Linked DNA regions of Homo sapiens: region 2 is linked to region 1. Evidence: promoter capture Hi-C in 16 types of primary human blood cells and fetal thymus (Javierre and others, 2016). All regions are on one chromosome and are shown on one strand. The core of a region is centred on a gene start or on the middle of the fragment in contact, and the rest is flanking DNA. Distances in the headings are between cores, read along the strand shown.

The links. Contacts are between HindIII fragments. The CHiCAGO score rates a contact against its expected background, and 5 or more counts as called.
Region 2: a fragment that was not itself captured here is called in contact with the fragment with the promoter of POU3F2 in region 1 in 4 of 17 cell types (total CD4 T cells, naive CD8 T cells, total B cells and 1 more); the score reaches 10.1 in total CD4 T cells.

The regions. Positions count from the first base shown.
Region 1 is chr6:98,832,685-98,836,343 of GRCh38, reverse strand. POU3F2 (POU class 3 homeobox 2) reads right to left here and starts at 1,770. Exons shown (of 1, transcript NM_005604.4): 1 at 1-1,770. The coding sequence starts at 1,470. The coding sequence ends at 139. RefSeq lists enhancers at 1-456, 457-1,053, 1,052-1,121 and a silencer at 1,760-1,829. The HindIII fragment of the contact is 14,703 bases long and covers 1-3,659 here.
Region 2 is chr6:97,522,443-97,526,101 of GRCh38, reverse strand. The region is part of intron 1 of LOC101927314 (a long non-coding RNA gene); the gene reads right to left. Among named protein-coding and RNA genes, the nearest start is that of MMS22L, 240 kb to the right of the region's middle. RefSeq lists an enhancer at 708-1,313. The HindIII fragment of the contact is 3,189 bases long and covers 398-3,586 here.

The DNA of each region.
Region 1 (3,659 bases), core at 521-3,020:
TCTTTTTAAGGGACGGGGAAATAATAATTAAAAATAAAAGAACAATCAGAAGTTAGAGAGGGAACAAGAGGGCCGGGAAAGGGCCAAGGACCGAAGGGGAGGGGGAGCCCCGCGCTCTGCCCCTCCCCCAGCTCGAGTTCACTGGACGGGCGTCTGCACCCCGTGGTGTGGTGGAGTGTCCCTACTCCCCCCGTACACATCCTCGGCGCCCGGCAGAGTCCCTCCGGGAGGGGTCATCCTTTTCTCTTTCTGTCTCCTGTTACAAAACCAAACTCTCACCACCTCCTTCTCCAGCTGTAAGCTGTCCGCGAGGGAGGTGATCTCCTGGGCCGAGGGCTTGGGGCATTTGAGGAAATGGCTCTCCAGAGCCCCCTTGACGCTCACCTCGATGGAGGTCCGCTTTTTCCGCTTGCGCCCTTGCGCTGCGATCTTGTCTATGCTCGTGGGGCTGCCCGAGGACGAGTCCGCCTCCTCCAACCACTTGTTCAACAAAGGCTTCAGCTTGCACATGTTCTTGAAGCTCAGCTGCAGGGCCTCAAACCTGCAGATGGTGGTCTGCGAGAACACGTTGCCATACAGGGTGCCCAGAGCCAGCCCCACGTCCGCTTGGGTAAATCCCAGTTTGATCCGCCGCTGCTTGAACTGCTTGGCGAACTGCTCCAGGTCGTCCGAGGTCGGCGTGTCCTCGTCCGAGTGCGGGTCGTGGTGCGCGCCTGGGTGGCCAGGCGGACCCTGCGGGGGCGGCGGGGGCGGCGGCTGCTGGTGTGGGTGCGAGTGCGGGTGCGGGTGGTGGTCGGCATGGTGTGGCTCGTCGTGCGCGTCCCGCAGGCCGTGGTGGTGCAGACCGGCCGGCTGCCCGCCGGCGCCCAGCATGCCGTTCACCGTGAAGCTGGGCTGCGAGTAGAGCAAGCCGCCGTTGGACGCTCCCATGGAGGGTGGGAGGTGCGCTGCAGCCGCCGCGCTCCGCCATGCCCCGGGTCCCGGGTGGTGGTTAGCGGCGTGGTGCACCAGATGCGGCGGCCGCTGTTGCTGCTGCTGCTGCTGCTGTTGCTGCTGTTGCTGCTGCTGTTGCTGTTGCTGCTGCTGATGCTGCTGCTGCAGGGCGCCTGGCCCGTGCAGCTCGTCTCCGCGGCCGCCCTGCTGCACCACCACCGAGGGCTTGATGTCCGGCTGGCCCAGGGGGCTGGTGGACCACGGGGAGCCGTCGCCGCCGCCCCCGCCGCCGCCCCCGCCCCCCCCGCCGCCGCCACCGCCCCCGCCGCCGCCGCCGTGGGACAGCGCGGTGATCCACTGGTGAGCGTGGCTGAGCGGGTGTCCGTTGCTCTGCAGAGCGCCGTAGTCGCCCTGCACCAGGCTCTGCGCTTCGCGGTAGCCCCCCGCGCCCTGCTGCATGCCGCCGGGCGGCTCGGCGTGCACGATGGAGGCGCTGGAGGTGAGCAGGCTGTAGTGGTTAGACGCTGCGGTCGCCATGACTCTCGGAGCCGGACTGAGCGCTCCGGTTAAAGGAGCCGCGCATTTGACAGTTACTTTTTCGCCTCGGGCTCCCTCTCCTCGCTCGCTCTTTCTGTCTCCTCTCTCTCCCACAGCGGGCAGCTCCGACGCCCGCTCCGACGCCTTCTGTTGCTGCTCCTGCTATTACTGCTGCTGCTGCCGCCGCCGCCGCCTCCCGCCCGCCCTCGCTCTCTTTCTCCTCCTCTCCCTCCTTCTCGCTCTCGCTCACTCTCTGACTAGCTCGGCGCTCCCCCCTCTCCCTGCTCTCTCCAGCTCTCTCCCGCTCTCTTGGCAGCGCCGGCTCGCAGCGGCACGCGCCTGGGCCCCGCCCCCTCCGCCCCCTCCCATTGGCTCCGCGCCCTTTGATTTACGTGGATACCGCTAGCAACCTCCCAGGCCGGCGCCACTGATTGGCGCAGAGCTACTCCCTCCCCCTCCCCCGGGCTCGGAGTCCTCCTAGCCCTCCTCCCCGTCCCCTTCGCCTCCCGATTCAGATTCTCTCAGTTCTCACCCCCCCGCTTCTTCCTCACCCGGGGCCTCCTCCGCCCTCTCTCGGATGGGCCCCGCCCCCCATCTGTCTCCCAGGCAGAGAAGACCGGCAGGGGGGCGGTCCCGGTGCTCTTATCGGCCACAGACACTTGGAAGACTTGGATTGGGGTGGGGGGCGGGAGGCAGTGGTGTCCACTTTCGTTTCCCAATAGGGCTTTAAGATGGGGAAACGGAGGGGGTAAGGGAAAAGCTGGGTCGCACCGAGCCAGCGGGAGTCGGATTTTTATTCACCTAGGGACACACACACAGTGTGTATCTCTTAAACCTAGAGCCAAGAGCCAGACCTGTTCCCCTGTTCAACTCTCCTTGCATCCCACGGTTAGAATTTCAGTGCACAAGTGTCTCTTGCTCCAGGGTGTGCGGACACTTCGGCCCAAAGCTCTTCTCCTTCCCCTCTACCCCGCGGCTAGCACAGGCTCTCTTCCTTTTAGGTTCCAGGCCCAATTGTCTCCCACTCCCTTGGGGAAAGAACCCCGAGAGAGGCAGGCTCAGCCCGCACCGCGGCTTGTAAGTCATTCCCATCAAGGCTCGGAGTTGCTTGCTCTGACAGCGTAGCGGTCTGAACTGAAAACCAAACAAAACTCTAAAAGTCTCTCCGTCAGATTCACACGCCGGCGCGTGCAGTTTTTGGTTTAGAAAACTAGAAGCCTGCGTGGGCTCCGTCTTGTGCGAGGCTGCCGGAGTGCTGGCGAGGGGTGTGCGGCCTTGTAGGGGCGGCGCAGTCGCCAAAGGCCGCTCCGGGAAGCCGCGCGGAGGGCCTGCGTGCGCGATTCCCCGTGCTCCTACCGCTGGTAGGTGCAACTTTTCCGTTAGCCCCTTGGGAAGGAGGAAGAGTGTGTGAAGCAAATGGGCTGATGCCAGGGGAACCTTCCTAATCAGTAACTTCGGTGGGCGCTAGCGGGTGGGGTTAGTCTATGTCTTTGGCGCTCCCTGGCCAAGCTCCCAGCTCAGCTTTCAGCAGTGAACTCCAGAGCAAGACTATGGGACCATGCACCCGCAGCGCCGCTCTACGGAGCGCGGGCGCGTCGCGCCATCAGTTCTTTAGCCGCCCAGAGCAGGTGCCGCCTGCGAGTTTCCGAGCCTGCAAGCCCGGTAGCTAGAACTTGGGCGCGGACCCAGGCTGGAGCGGCGTGACCGCCACGCAGGGCCGGGTGTGTACATGGGCGCTGTAAAGCGAATCAACAGTTACTGCCGGGAAGGGAATGACAGACCCCAGGGAACCTGGATCGCGTCCCCACCTCTCACCCCTCGCTCTATCGCTGGTTTTGCCGGCGGTCGTAGGCTTGAGAGGGCAGCCAAATCAACGCTCAGAGGGAGCATTTTGGGGCCTCTGAGCATCTGAATCCAGACAGCAGACTGGAGCGGGCCAGAAAATTCATCATGACTAACAAGGAGTCATGCTCTTTGGAGAGTGGCTGAGCTGTTTATAAATCACCACGTTGAGCACCCGCCCGGGCAAGACGCTTTGGCTGAGAATTTCCACGTGTCCTGTGTTTATGAGCGTGTGTGGGGGAGAGAAATGGATAGGGGAGGGGCGAGCCCACAGGCCGCCAGCAGGACGGACCTGCACCCCCACCACGCGCGCACCCGCGCGGCGAGGCGAGGCGAGGACACACACA
Region 2 (3,659 bases), core at 743-3,242, 1.3 Mb after region 1:
GGCTTTAAGAGAGTTCAGGAAATACCCCAAATTGTATTTAAAATGGTGTATGAGCTTGTGAAGAGTTAACAACATTATTAAGAATTTCAAACTTCATTCACAGTCCTAGTCTAAAAACAAACAATTTTTCTAAAAATTACAAATCACTTATTTGAGAGAAGCTTTCATTCACAAGTCCATTATTCACCTTTCCAAATTGATTATAAAATTAATTAAACCCTTACTTCAGCTTTATTCTTTGGTTGGTTGGTTGGTTTTTTTGTTTGTTTTTTACTAGGTTCTCCTCCCCACCCACCATCCCATGCGTTTGATTCATTTTGGCAGTTAGTCTGAGGAGGGAAGTACTTAAACTTAGTGGCTAATTTTGCTATCTTTCAAATGCCTTTAGATAAAAGCTTGGTTGTAAATTCAGTAGTTTGAAGTTGTAAACTAAAGTCACTTTTCTTTCTTGTGTGTAGATATCAATTAAATGTGATTTCCGTTCCCCCCACATATAATCAAAGAGTAGCTGCTATTTAAATGTGGCAACTCACATATGGGATCAGAACAGTCATCTAAAAAAAAAATTCTCCTCTTCTAAAACCAAGGGTACATCTTGTAACTTTTAATTTCAGATTTTACATTTTTAACAAAAAATGTGATGAGATGTGGGAAGATTATCATTTGATATCAGGAGGCAACATAGAGAAGTAGAAGTATAATTAGGAGGCATTCCTTGAAGATTTGTACAGTAACTAGTGTATGATCAATCCAGGATTTTTTTTTAATGAAAGAAAGAAAGAAAAAGAAACTGAGTATAAACCTGATTTAATCAATTTAGAGCTGTTTTAGTGAGCTTGTTCCCCAAGCATTAGAAATGCTGATGGAGCTACAGTGGATATATTTGGTTATGTACCAGGATGGGTATGAGGAGACCGGGGACTTAACCCCCAGCTCTGTTCCTGACTCATTGAGTGACCTCAAGCCAGTTAACCCATCTGTTGTTTTTCAGAAGGTGATGACTTGGAGACTGCCTAGCAATTGCTGTGCATTAATAGGGTGACAGTCAGAGGAAGACGCCTGGGGCAGGAGAGCTTCGGTGTGAGGAAATCAGCCTTTGCTGCTCTGCCCAATCATGTCAGCACTGCTGCTCTTTCAAGAGGCTTCCTGCCATTGTTGTTCCAGCTCCGGAATACCTCATGCTGCCAAAGCCACTGCAGGGGGTCACCTTTAACAGACAACCTCATTTTCAAATTTCCAGACCACTAAATCAAATGAACCAGAGCAAGGGTAATTTTTTTAAGGTTGCCAAAGAGATGCATGGAAAAGATGCCTATGTTGGGAAGAGAGAATTACAGAAGGAGTCTTGCTTTGTGATGATTGGAAAAGAAAGTAGATCAGAAAGCAGCTTCATGAGTTTGGGAATTATTTAGATTTTAAATTGTGTTTTGCTCTACATCAAATTGGATTAGAATCCTTGAATCTTATAAGACTTTGATCCAACCATTTCACATTTACAAATTAAAAAGGAGCTTTGGCAGTGAAAATTATATAAGATACAACCAGAAAGATTTGAGGAGCATACAGGCAGATTTAGCCTAAAAGCCCATCCACTTGTGCAATGTCTCATACCAACGTGTTTGTACTTTAAGAAAATGTACTCAATTTCTATTATGCTAAACATTCATCAATAGAGAGACATGCAGTCATAAAATTCTGTATATCTATCTTCCTTTATACTGTATCATGTTTCTAAATCCAATAATAACTTTTTTCACTGAAGCTGATGTCCTTAAATTTTGGGGTACTAAAAGTGTGGTATAAATGCTGACCAGTTAAAAAATTAAACAAATTTTAACCAAAGGTAAAATAAATGAGCCGTATCATATATTTGGTAATCTAACATGTCCATCACAACTAGACCCACACAAAATAACCATGCAGAAGTGAAAGCAATGAGCAAGAGAGAAAGGGGACTGCACTTTCAAATCTAAAATTTAGACAACCATAAATTTGGCTGTGTAGGAATGTTAAAGAGAAAAAGCAACTGATCACCTTATATGTAAGCAAGAAGGCTGAGCCAAATATCATCCATTCAAACTATATAGACTAAATCAGGCATCCCGTAAGAAAAAAAGGATCATCAGCTACACACAAGCACCATCCTTCAGCACAGTACATTCCAACAACTTCCCAAGGCTGCCATGTGTGTGCAGAGCTTCATCAATAGGGTTTGAAAAGCACTGCTATTCTCCAGATAGTGCTCACTACATGAACGCTAACATAAATCAAAAATACTGGCGTGTGTTCCCTGTAGTCACTACTGCTTAATCCGCTTACTCTAACCCTTCCCACCTTCACACAGGGTCATCTCTCCATGTAACCAACATATTCCCCCTTTCAAAAATCTTTTCTTTCATGAAGGTTTATAAATGCTTTATTGATTTTTCCACACAAGGCCAGTCAACTTCTGACTTCACAAGAAGAATCAAATAAAGTGGCTGAACCCACTGCAGTTTCCCTACCTACATAACTAAAGTACCACAACCCAGTAAATTTTTGTTCTACTAACTGACCTGGTCATAAAGCAGCCACCATCCGTCTAACTACAAAGTTAGAAGTCCACTGGCCAAATAACTTCATGGCTGGCATGATTATCAGTCTCAGTCCTATGTCTAGAAAAATAAAATCTTGACCCAGCTTTTAATATCTGATTAACTTTTCAACAAGCCAGTTAGTCAAAAAAGACTGTCATTGATATCACTTGCATTTTTAAACAAATTAGAATTGTTTATGAACTTCAAAATATTCTGGTTCCTAATTTAATTAATAATTTTTCAGCAATTTTTGAGAAAATGTTTATTTTTTATTATTATAGGTTATTAAAATAATATGCCACTTCGTAGGTTCCTTATTTTATTTATACTGTTTATACTATTCATCCGTAATTCCTTCTGTCTCCACTTTCTTTCTTTGAACACAACTAAGCATTTTGCATCTAAATTTTCCTGCTTCAAAAATTGAATAGCATAATTCAAAAAAATACACAAATCTACACTACACAAACACACACACACACACGTATACATATATACATATTTCTTCTCTACTTAAAAGTACAGAGGTTGATAAAACTGTCATTGGCATTAGTAAGGTTTCACAGAAAATAAAAAGTGGGAACAATTAATAAAAGTGGCATTTTTAAAATTACATCAAATTTTAAACCAGGGAAGATTAATAAACATTAAAAATTTGCTCTTATAATTTATCTCCTTAAAAGGTATTTTTTATTTTTTAACGTTTTTCTTTTAATGTGATTTATACACAAGAAAACTCCTCCATGTTACACAGACACTTTGATGAGTTTTGAAAAAATGTATACACACATGTAAACATCACGAGAATCATGAACCAGAACATTCCCTGCACCCTGAAGTTTTGTCTCATGTGTCTCTTTGTCATCAATTCACTCCTCCCACCCTGACCCTTGGCAACCAATGATCTGCTTTCTGTTATTACAATATTTCTTTTTCTAGAATTTCACATAAATGGAATCATACAGTATGCAATCCTTTGTGTCCAGCTTTTTTTAACTCAGTGTAAAGCTTTTGGGATTCATCCATGCTGTTGGCTGTATAAGTAGTTCACTCATTTTCATTGCCAAGAAGTATTTCATTATA